3 separate regions of the Homo sapiens genome follow, and regions 2 and 3 are each linked to region 1. The links are contacts of gene promoters, found by promoter capture Hi-C in blood cells and fetal thymus (Javierre and others, 2016). All regions are on one chromosome and are shown on one strand. Each heading gives the region's core, a stretch centred on a gene start or on the middle of the fragment in contact. The rest is flanking DNA. Distances are from core to core; before and after follow the strand shown. Region 1 holds the start of B3GNT7 (UDP-GlcNAc:betaGal beta-1,3-N-acetylglucosaminyltransferase 7). Region 2 holds the start of C2orf72 (chromosome 2 open reading frame 72). Region 3 holds the start of SPATA3-AS1 (SPATA3 antisense RNA 1).

Region 1 (3,437 bases), core at 889-3,388:
TCTGCTCCCACCTCCTCTGGCCCTTGTGCTTCTGGGGCTTTGTGGAGTAGCTGGACATCAATGATAACACTAACAGTAGCCGGCCTGCCACCAAGTTCTTTACATAGGGGATGCCTATGTCTGTGCTTCATTGGCGTCATCTCACAAGGCCCTGAGCTGGCAGGAAATTGAGGTCTCAAGGGGAAAAGCCACCTGCCCCCAGTGACAACCAGGAAGTGCAAGACTCTGACCCAACGCCCATGCCTGCCATCCCCAAACATGGGCTCAAAACCCCCTTCCCAGGGACGGCTGTGTCCACCCCTCAGCAGGAGGAGGAGACCCCACAGCACCGGGTGAGAGGTCAGTGCTGAAGCCAGGGAGGCAGCTCTCAGCAGGGCACCTGTGTGGAGCCAGGGAAGCCAGGGCCACACTTGCAGGGTGAAGTGGGGAACTCGGAAGGCTGGGCAGTGGAGCAAAATGCTTGGTGCCCTGCGGGAACCGGTGGCCAAGGCTACACTGGGATGAAGGGAGCCGTGGAGCTGCAGAATCTGCGGGTGGCCCTCAGTGGCAGGCAGCCAGGCCAACAGGGGCTTTGGGCTGCAGGTCAGCCCCTCCCCTGCTCTGGAACTTTTGGAGGGCCATTACAAAGGACATCAGCCCCAAGATACTCCTCTGAAATTCTGCCTGAAAGGCCCTTCACATTCCCTAATTGGCACTTACAACATTCCAGAACATTCTATGGTACCTTAAGTTTCTCCTCCCCCTCCAAAGGGCCCTTGAACCTTAAGGATAGGGCAGAAGGGGCTCCTCACCCTGGCCTCGAGGGCTTAAGATCCAGCTGAGGACTCCTAGCCTCCCTGTGTGCTGGGCAGGAAAGTAGCTCCATGTCACTGCTGTCCCTGGGAAAGGAAAAAAGGTTGAGGAAGGGCTCAGAGCCAGCCTTCAGACCAGGCAGGAAGGGTTCAGAGCCAGCCTTCAGGCCATGCAGGCCTCCTGGATGTGCTTACTAACTCTGGGCTCGCTGTTCTCTGAGCTGGCTGGGAGTTCCCCTCTGCACCCCCGTTTCCTCCCCTGTAAGGTGGGAATAATAGCGTATGTCTCTAGGATTAAGTGAGCCAGTCATGCATGGGCCGAGAACCAGGTTTGGCATATTGTAGCTGCTCAGTGGACGTTAGCTGTTATGATTGGACCACAACGTGCTTCCGTTTCAATTCTGTGGGCCTTTTGGAGGTCCTGCTGGATGCTAAGCACCGAAACCTCAACCCGGAACAAGACCAGAACAACCTGAGCAACAACAGGACCAGCGATGGCTCTCCCTGCTGGAGGATTCTGGAAGTCACCTGGCTGGACCAAGCCCTCTCCGTGTTCTCTGTCAGCCCACTCCCCAGAGCCGCTAGGCCTGATGTGCACAAGCAGACTAATAAAGGCTTGAGGACAAAAAGGGTTTTGAGTGATAAGTGAAAAAAGAAAGGAGATAGGGCTGGGCCAACAGGCCTTCCCTTGGTGGTGGGGAGCCCTCAGAGGTGGGAGGAACCCCAGAGGTGAAGAGAGGGACATGGTGGGGGCACAAAAAAAGCTTCCAGAGCCACAGGCCTGGGCGAGTCCTGACATGGAGCCCAGTCTCATACGGCCTCTTTCCCTAGTGGCTGGCTTTGCTCCTGGCCCTAGGTAGCCCAACAGCTGGGCAAGGGGTCCGTCTGGTCAGGGGAAAGGTGCAGGGGCAGAAGGTAGCAGAGGGAGAAAAGGACACCCTGTCTGCCTCTGGCCCCAAAGACAAGTCCGAATGGGGCCAGAGGGAAATGGCTGGGCCTTGGGGTGCCCCAGGGTCTTGGAGGGGACCGGGTGTTCAGGTTTCGCACAAGTACAGGAGGGACCGGCGACCGCCCTCCCCCCGCCCCGGGAGGCTCCGCCAGGGACAGGCGTCCCCGGGATTGGAGGTGACCCCCGTGGGTTCCGAAGCCCCGCCTCGGCCATGCACTGTCTACTAGGCGCGCTTGGGGAGCCTAGGGGCCGTCTCGGAGAAATGGGGTGGTCCCCGCCAGGCGGCGGCGGGGCGGGCCCTGGGCGCCGAAGGGGTTAAGGCACCTGGGCCACCGCCCCTGCCGGCCCCTCCTCCCGCGGCCGGGAAGAGGAAAGTCGCGGCGGGGGCGCGGCCCGGTCTCCGTCCCCACCCGCCCGCCGTCCCGCCGGCCCGAGCCGTGGCGCCCAGAGCTGCGAGCCGCTCGCCCCTCCGCCGCTCCGGCCCGGGCCGCCATGTCGCTGTGGTGAGTGGGGCTGGGGGCCGTCGGGGGCCTGGGCGGGGGCGTGGGCCCGGGGCTCCCCCTCCTCCGTGGCCACAGACGGGCGCCGGGACTCCCGGGATAGGAGATGCCCCCGCGCGCGCCGCGCCGGCCTCAGTTTCCCGGGGGCGGATGGGCGGGCGGGCGCGGCGGCGGCGGCGGGAGATGTTCGCGGTACGCGGCCCCGGACCCGTGGGGGACGTCGAGGGGTCTCGGGGCGCCGCGCTCAGCTCCCCGGCCCCGCGGCCCTGGACACCGCTCCAGGACCCTGGCGGCTGGGACCCCAGGTCTTGCCGGCAGCTGGGTCCCCTCTCCCTTCCAGACCCCTGAGGGCCCCCTGCGTCCGGGCCACTCTCCTCCTCTCGGGGCTTCCTTCCGCGGGACCTCGGACCGCCGCCCGCCCGGCCCCTCTCCGCCCCTCCCGGGCTTTCCCTACGAATGGAGCGGACCCGGCAGGTGGAGCGCCCGCAGCCCAGGGCCTCGCCGCCTTCCCGGTGCACCCCCCGACCTCCCCCGTCCCGGCCTCGGTGGGCGGCTTCCCTGGAACCCCTAGGGCTGGCAGGGCCGGATCCGGAGCCCTCCGTTTCCTCCCCGGAGAGCTGGACCTTGGGTCACACCCCCCAGCCTGCACCTAAGGTGCCCCTGTCTTCCTCCAACCACATGCCCCAGCAACCTGGGGACCCTATGGGGAAAATGTCGCTCTATGGGGCTCAGCCTGCATTCACCCTGGGGCCTGGACCTGCAACCGGACCAGCCCTCAGGGCAACCCAGGCGTCTCCACGGGCTGCCTGTCTCTCCTGGCACCCTGCTCCTCCCCCTTGGAGGTCAGCGCCATCTCTCTGCTAGGCTGGCCCTGGAAGGCCACTCTGCTGTCCCCAGAGCTCTCAGCCCCCAGGTCTCCACTGGGGAGGGTGGGGCAGGTGTCCTGGCAGCCCCCGGAGGGTGAGATGAAGAGAGGAGGTCCTTCAGGACAGGGGCTCAGGCCCCAGGGCTTGGGACGACCAGCACTCCTGGCAGAGAGCTCTAATTTCTGCTTCCGAAATGGGTGTGGACCGGGGTTGGGGTGGGGGGGTCTCTGGGCAAGAAGGGTCCCTCAAGGGCTGGAGCTGCAAATGTGCCCCCTCCCAGGGAGTAGAGCTGTAGCCTCATGTCTTCTAATGGGGTGTTATGAGCTGGGGA
Region 2 (3,803 bases), core at 1,200-3,699, 360 kb before region 1:
ACTTCAGATGATCTGCCAGCCTCAGTCTACAAAGTGCTGGGGTAACAGGAGTGAGCCACCATGCCCAGCCAGATTTAGTTCCCTTTTTGATAGGGCACTTCCTCCAATAGTGTTTTCAAAGAGGGGCTATATGTGATACGCCTTCTGATTCTTTATATACCTGATAATTTAGCTAGAAATCCAAATCTAGGGTCAAAGTTATTTTTCTTTGATACTTTAAAACAATTTTTCCATTTTTTCTTAAACCCAATGTTGTTGCTAAGAAATCTGAAGTCAACCAGATTTTTGTTCCTTCCTCAGTCCTTCTACTACCCAGCTTCTGGGAATACAGGTGTGATGGCCCAAGCTTTAGCAGCCAATTTGGATTATGAAGATGTCAGAGGGCAATAGTGACTTGGTATGAAATCTGAGTCTTCAAACACCTAGTAAAGCAGAACTATTATACTATTTCAGCCATAAACTGTCCATCCCCAAACGTCTACAAAAGAGAAAAAGAAATTTTCATTGTTATTAGTGTTGTCTGTGTTATTAAGAAATGAATCTTAATTCATATATCCATTAAACCTGCTTTGTTTTATACTTTCCAGAAGCCTAACTGTTTTTTATTTTTTATTTTATTTTATTCATTTATTTATTTTTTGAGACAGAGTTTCGCTCTTGATGCCCAGGCTGGAGTGCAATGGCACGATCTCAGCTCACCAAAACCTCCACCTCCTGGGTTCAAGCCATTCTCCTGCCTTAGCCTCCCAAGTAGCTGGGACTACAGGCATGCACCACCATGCCTGGCTAATTTTGTATTTTTAGTAGAGACTGGGTTTCTCCATGTTGGTCAGGCTGGCCTCCAATCCCCGACCTCAGGTGATCCACCTGCCTTGGCCTCCCAAAGTGCTGGGATTACAGACACAAGCCACAGCGCCCGGCCCCAGAAGTCTAATTATTTTTCCCAGTGAATTCATGTTTCCCTAGATATCAGCTACTTTGGTTGGCGATAGGTACACCTGGAAGAGACTAAAACCTAGGCTCTTCCTATATATCCCACCTGGGAGCTTAAGGAATGGGGGTGTGATGGGACTTGCCTCTGGCATCAAATGTGAATGTAGCCACTCCCCATGTGCCACCCTCACACACACCAGACACCCCACTCAGGGAGCTTCTGGGCACTCTCCCCTGGCCAATCCTCTTTCATGAGGCAGGTCTCGTGGTTGGAATTCCTGACCCATGAAGTGGGAAGAAGAGGCTGCCGGGTCTGGTTTTTCTGTGCTGCTAGCCCCAGCCTGATATGCCATCCCTGGCTAGCACAGCTGTTTTCTGCCTCCCAGCAGTGCTGGGGAGATGGGGTTGAGAAATGGTCTACTCAGGCCAATGCAAGCAAAGAAAAGAGCACAAGTGTATAGCGTTCACTCAGCCTATCCCCCTTCTATGGCACTGAGGGGAGGAGGCGACAGGCCTTCCCTGGTTTTACATTGGTTTCTCAGAGTCCTTACCAACTCCCCTCTTGCTTCTGCGGCGTCTTTAGGGTACTATTCAGAGAAAGGTGCCAGCCCTTTAAGTACATTATCATCTTGTCACTTTCTGCTTTAATTTTACATTTCATTACAAATTACGTGAAATGTAATACTCAGTTCTTCAGTTGCACTCGCCAGATTTCAGGTACTCAATAATAGTCACATATGGTGCAGACAATAAAAAAGTTTTCCATCATCACAGAATGTTCTATTGGACAAGGCTGACCTAGATCCTTAGAAGGAAGGGAAATGCATTCCTGCTTCTGACCTGGCTGGCCCCTTGCTCCCCACGCAGATCAGAGCACCATCCGTGTCCTGCATCTGGCCCCCTAGACTTTCTGCTTTACGGAAACAGTCTGGGTTTCAACCCCAGCGCCTGGGGTGGTACAATAAGTATTTGTGGAAATAATGGACCCTCGGTCAGTTTTTGCTAAATGTTGAAGCCCAAAAGGAAAGCTGGGTGGCAGAAATAACCCCTGCGTGTTCTCTTTTATCTCACCTTCCTACCCACTTCTGCGCCCTCCGCCCCCTACCCCCCTACCTCCCACCCCACCTCGGCAAGACCCCAAACTGTGCAGGACTCTGCTCCAGGTCTCCAAACGATCTTATCTAGTGAGGGGATAATTGTCTGTCTTCCCAACCTCGGCTGCCCAGCGCCTGCACATAGTAGGTGCGCAGTAAGTATGTGTGGGATGGACGAACAAATGAATGAATGAATGACTCTCTGTTTCCCCGCGTCTGCGCAGGGACTTCGGGAGGAGCCACCCTTGGAGGGCTGAGGAGAAAGCCCTCTTCCTCCCACCCGGGCCCGCGATGCGGGCTGCGCCCAGGGGCGCGTGCACACAGAGGCCCCGCCCGGGGGCCCGGGGGTCCGGCTGGGCTCGGCCCTCGGGGGCGTGTCCTCTGTGCCGGGGCGCCACCGCCCCGAGAGGCGGGCAGCGGGTGCGCCCGGGCCGCGGCGGCCGCAGAGGGCGGGCGGCGGCCAGCATGGAGCGCGAGCTGGAGGCGCTGGCGGCCCGGCTTGCGCGCCCTGCCGAGCCGCCCTTCCAGGCGTTGGTGGAAGCGGCGGGGGGCCGCGGGCAGGTGCTGCTGGTGGGCGAGCTGTGGGAGCGCGAACAGAGCCGCGCGCTGCTGCGGGACTTCGCACGGGCGGTGTTCCCGCCGGAGCCAGGCGCGGCCAAGCCGGGCGGCGCGGCGGCAGAGGGCGCGGGGCCCGGGGCGGCGCGCGGGGCGCAGAGGGCGGCGAGGGCGGCTGGGGCGGCGGGGGCGGCGGCGGCGGCGGCGCGCGCCATCCGCTCGCCGCTGGTCTTCGTGCTGTGCCGCGCGTCGTCGCTGGCCGCCCGGGAGCCGCGGCGCCGCCTGCGGGAGATGCTGCGGGACGTGCGCGGCCGGCGGCGGGCCGGGGCGGCGCTGGTCGGGGTGCTGGTGGCCGAGGCCGGGCCAGAGGACGCGGTGGCGCCGGGGCTGCGGCTGCTGGAGGCGCTGTTGCGCGCCGTGTTCGGCCGCCAGGCGGGGGGGCCCGTGCAGGCGGCCGCCTACTGCCCCGGCCTCCCGGCCTCCTGCCTGGCCGTCCAGGCGGCCGCCTGCAGGGCCCTGCAAGCCGCCGGAGCCGGGCAACCAGGTGAGACTGCGCGGGGCCCGGCTGGGCGCGGGCGGGCGGTGGCTCGGGCACGTCCCCCAAGTTGGACCCCTTTGGCCATTCCCTTATTGAGCACCGAGGTAAACTGAGGCTCAGAGCAGGGAGGTGCCTAGAGCCAGGCCTCGCAGCTAGCGGAGAGCGGGCCGTGCGTAGCGGATCGAGTCTGTCCCGGAAGGGTCCGGAGTGCACGGGAGATGCCTAGGGGGCGTGGGAAAGCTGAGGGGCCGAGTAGAAGGCAGAGGGAGTGGGTAGAGAGAAGGGATGAATCGGGCAAGGCCGAGATCTAGGAGTTACGGGGTGGGTGGGGGTGGGGAGAGAAGAGGAGTGGGGAAGGAAATGGGAAAGCCTTGGGATGGGAAAGTTTCAAGGGGGTGGATGGGTGCTAAGGAGATTGGCGGTGCCAGAAGCTAAATTCTAGGGCGCTGCGCAGCCAGAGATGCGTCGGGAGCTCTAGGAGGGGCGGAGGGGCATCTCCAGCGCGGTGGAGGCTCGTCCTGGAAGCCCTGCCTGGTTTTAGGAAGAGGGCAAGGAATGGGTGCTCGGGACTTGACGTGTGGGGAGGTGAGAGGGACTAAGAGTACATTTTCTATTGATTTCTGGCCACCCACCAAGGCTGTGCACCCAACTGCTGTGTCCCTCAGCCTCCCCCAGGTCTGCTG
Region 3 (3,539 bases), core at 449-2,948, 400 kb before region 1:
CTCGCTCAGGGACCTTTTTTTTTTTTTTGAGACGAGTCTCACTCTGTCGTCAGGCTGGAGTGCAGTGGCACAATCTCGGCTCACCACAACCTCCGCCTCACAGGTTCAAGTGATTCTCCTGCCTCAGCCTCCTGAGTACCTGGGACTACAGGCGTGCACCACCATGCCCAGCTAATTTTTGTATTTTTAGTAGAGACAGGTTTTCACCATGTTGGTTGGCCAGGATGGTCTCAATCTCTTGACCTCATGATCTGCCCGCCTCAGCCTCCCAAAGTGCTGGGATTATAGGCGTGAGCCACCGCACCAGGCCACTGGGGGACTTTTTAATTCATTATTTCAAAGCCTGTATAATTATCTGACTCCCTATTGTTTTCTGGGATCATGAAAATAATGAGCCCCAAACTGGAATTTAGTCCTTCCGATGCCCCCAGCCAGCTGTGTGACCCTGGGAAAGTAACTTAATTTCGCTAAACCTCAGTGTTCTGAGGAAAGGTCATCATTAAGGTATTTTTAGGCTCTAGAAGCCCTAAACTATGTCCTGTCATTTCAGAGTTCATGTTGGGTCTGGCTTTGTGTGGCCCAAAGCCCCCCATTTTTTTTTAAGACAGAGTCTCGCTCTGTCGCCCAGGCTGGAGTGCAGTGGCACGATCTCGGCTCACTGAAAGCTCCACCTCCAAGGTTCACGCCATTCTCCTGCCGAGTAGCTGGGACTACAGGCACCCACCACCACGCCCGGCTAATTTTTTGTATTTTTAGTAGAGACGGGGTTTCACCATGTCAGCCAGGATGGTCTCAATCTCCTGACCTCGTGATCTGCCCGCCTCAGCCTCCCAAAGTGCTGGGATTACAGGCGTGACCGAAGCCCTTTTTATCTGCATAGGTCTGCTCTAAACCTTCCGCTGGGGCAGGAGCTCCTGCGCTTGCCAGTCCCACACTCACCCACCTGTGACACACTGGCGATGAAAGCAGTCTCCTCAGGTGAACACATTTTATGTTGCAGTCACAGTATGAGCTTCAGATTGTCTTTTAAAAATACTTTTCCTTCTTCCATCCTAAAACAAAAATCACATTTAATGAGCACATTAAATTAATTAATCTAGAGAAAGATTCAGTCACCTGTTTAACCCAACCAATTGGGGTTTGGGAGATAGTCTGTGGTTGCCATTGCCATGAGTTTGAGACAAATGTTAGTTTTCTGAACAGCTGTTATGTTCTCAGGGAAAATTATCTGCCAAATGCAAAGGTTCTTATAAAAGTCAAGTCAACCCCCAAACTCCCCTCCCACAGTGCGGGAGGGCAGGCTTTGGGGGAAGGGGTAAGCTACTCTGAGATGGTAGCAGGCTCTGGGCCATGGTAAAGCCTTCGAAGAAGCTCCAAATCTTCAGGAAGCTGACCTGAAGATGAATGCGTGGGGAACATGGATTTTTGAGGTGTAGGAGTAGGGGGTATGTGGAAGCCAGTGACAGAGCTGAGCGTCACATCCAGGGTATCTTAGAGCAAAACAGGTAGCTCACATGGACCCAGGAACACGCCAGCAGAGAGGTGTCTGAAGGCAGCGCTCAGGTCGCAGAAGCATGAGGATCTGGCTGTCACCAGCCCCGTAGCCAGGGCTGTGAGGACCAGGGCAGCCGCTGTCCCCTGCCTAGCCTGGCAGCCTGGGATGAAGGAGGACACCAGGCTGGTGTCTGCAGAGAAGACTGTCCCTTGAAGCCCTGCCATAGGAGCCACCCTGGCTTTTATGACCTCACAGGAGGTGTGGGTCACTGTTCTCTGTGGGGCCTGGGTCCAGCTGGAGGCCCAAGCCAGGCTCCTAGGGCAGAGGGCAAACGGCCCCTCCAGGAGGGAGCCGGGAGATTACGCAGCTCCATGTAGGTCCACGTTTAGGTTGGGAGGATCTACCATGAAGAAGGTCAAGAAGAAAAGGTCAGAGGCCAGACGCCACCGAGACTCCACCTCCCAGCATGCTAGCTCCAATTCCACCTCTCAGCAGCCTAGCCCTGAATCCACACCACAGCAGCCTAGTCCTGAATCCACACCACAGCAGCCTAGCCCTGAATCCACACCACAGCATTCCAGCCTTGAAACCACCTCCCGGCAGCCAGCATTCCAAGCCCTTCCAGCACCCGAAATCCGCCGCTCCTCTTGCTGCCTTTTATCTCCAGATGCTAACGTGAAGGCAGCCCCTCAATCCAGGAAAGCAGGTGGGCTGTCTTCTAGCTTCAGCAGTTCCAGCCTTCCTGCTGATGGAGTTCTGGGTCATCCCAAAGGCTGGTTCTTGTAGGATAGTGATGCATGGTTAACGTGTATCCTGGAGCTGTGCTGTAGAGTGGGAAGGTTTTTGTTTTTGTTTCTACCCAAGAGACCAGGATTCCTGGGTTTTGTCATTTCTCATCATCCTGAGTCTCACTGAAGACAGCCACACATACATATAAACATTTAACTTGGTTCCATAGTAATACTTGCTCACTAGGAATCAGCAGTGCCATGCAACTGCTAAAAAATAAAAACCAAGGATGCATTTATAGAAGTATATGGTTTAGAATAAGGGAGGTGATGATACTGCTTTATTCTGTCCTCATCAAGCTATCCTTTTGGGCTGTAAAAGATGCCTGACAAACTAGTCCAAGGAAGATAGTCTGGGTTGATGGAGGATGAGAAGGATCAGGGAGACCATTTAGTGTATGACAGTCAATTGAAGGAATTGGAGGATGTCTGTCTGTCAAGTGGAAGATGTGAATAGACTTGTTCCTTATTGTCCTCAGAGATCTAAGGGTCTGATGTGGTTTGGCTGTGTCCCCACCCAAATCTCTTCTTGAATTCCCAGGTGTTGTAGGAAGGACCCAGTGGGAAGTGATTGAATCACGGGGGAGGGTCTTTTCCGTGGTGTTCTCGTGATAGTGAATAAGTTTCATGAGATCTAATGGTTTTAAAAAAGGGAGTTTCCCTGCACAAACTCTCTTCTCTTGTCTGCCGCCATGTGAGATGTGCCTTTCACCTTCCACCATGATTGTGAGGCCTCCCCAGCCACGTGGAACTGTAAGTTCCACAAACCTCTTTCTTTTGTAAATTGCCTAGTCTCAGATATGTCTTTATCAGCAGTGTGAAAACAGACAAATACAGGCCCATGGATAGGATAGCCAGACAAAATACAAGACTCTCAGTTAAATTTTAATTTTAGTAAACAACAAATAATATTTTTAGTATGTGTGTCCCCAGTATTGCATGGGCATCCTATATTTTTATTTGCTAAATTAGCAATCTTACCCATGGAAGACATTAGTGACAGAAAGCCTTCGGCTCAACATAAAAAACTTCCCAACAATTAGCTCTGTCTGAAAATGGAATGGCTGTCAGGAAAAGTGGTTCCCTGTCTTCTTGGGAGCCAAACAGTGTCTGTATAAGCATTGGATTGTGTAGAGGGAATTCAAGTGGAGTTCAGGAGGTGGGCTGGTTTATACTACTAACAATAATGGTGATAGCAAACTAACATTATCACTAAGCATTTACTGTGTACCTAGCATTCAGATCAGGTGTCTTAA

Evidence for each region. The method cuts DNA at HindIII sites, captures the fragments that hold promoters and counts their contacts. A CHiCAGO score of 5 or more calls a contact.
Region 2: a contact is called between the fragment with the promoter of C2orf72 here and the fragment with the promoter of B3GNT7 in region 1, in 7 of 17 cell types (erythroblasts, M0 macrophages, neutrophils and 4 more). The highest score is 9.2, in erythroblasts.
Region 3: a contact is called between the fragment with the promoter of SPATA3-AS1 here and the fragment with the promoter of B3GNT7 in region 1, in 3 of 17 cell types (fetal thymus, naive B cells and neutrophils). The highest score is 6.7, in fetal thymus.

Annotation. Positions count from the first base shown.
Region 1 is chr2:231,393,572-231,397,008 of GRCh38, forward strand. B3GNT7 (UDP-GlcNAc:betaGal beta-1,3-N-acetylglucosaminyltransferase 7) reads left to right here and starts at 2,139. Exons shown (of 2, transcript NM_145236.3): 1 at 2,139-2,243. The coding sequence starts at 2,233. RefSeq lists enhancers at 1-343, 344-925, 1,221-1,270 and a silencer at 1,821-2,290. The HindIII fragment of the contact is 8,411 bases long and covers 1,554-3,437 here.
Region 2 is chr2:231,035,074-231,038,876 of GRCh38, forward strand. It overlaps C2orf72 (chromosome 2 open reading frame 72), which reads left to right and starts at 2,450. Exons shown (of 3, transcript NM_001144994.2): 1 at 2,450-3,126. The coding sequence starts at 2,493. The HindIII fragment of the contact is 4,632 bases long and covers 345-3,803 here.
Region 3 is chr2:230,994,334-230,997,872 of GRCh38, forward strand. SPATA3-AS1 (SPATA3 antisense RNA 1) reads right to left here and starts at 1,699. Exons shown (of 6, transcript NR_033879.1): 1 at 1,515-1,699; 2 at 944-1,052. It overlaps SPATA3 (spermatogenesis associated 3), which reads left to right and starts at 1,788. Exons shown (of 5, transcript NM_139073.5): 1 at 1,788-2,201. The coding sequence starts at 1,901. RefSeq lists an enhancer at 1,299-1,832. The HindIII fragment of the contact is 18,304 bases long and covers 1-3,539 here.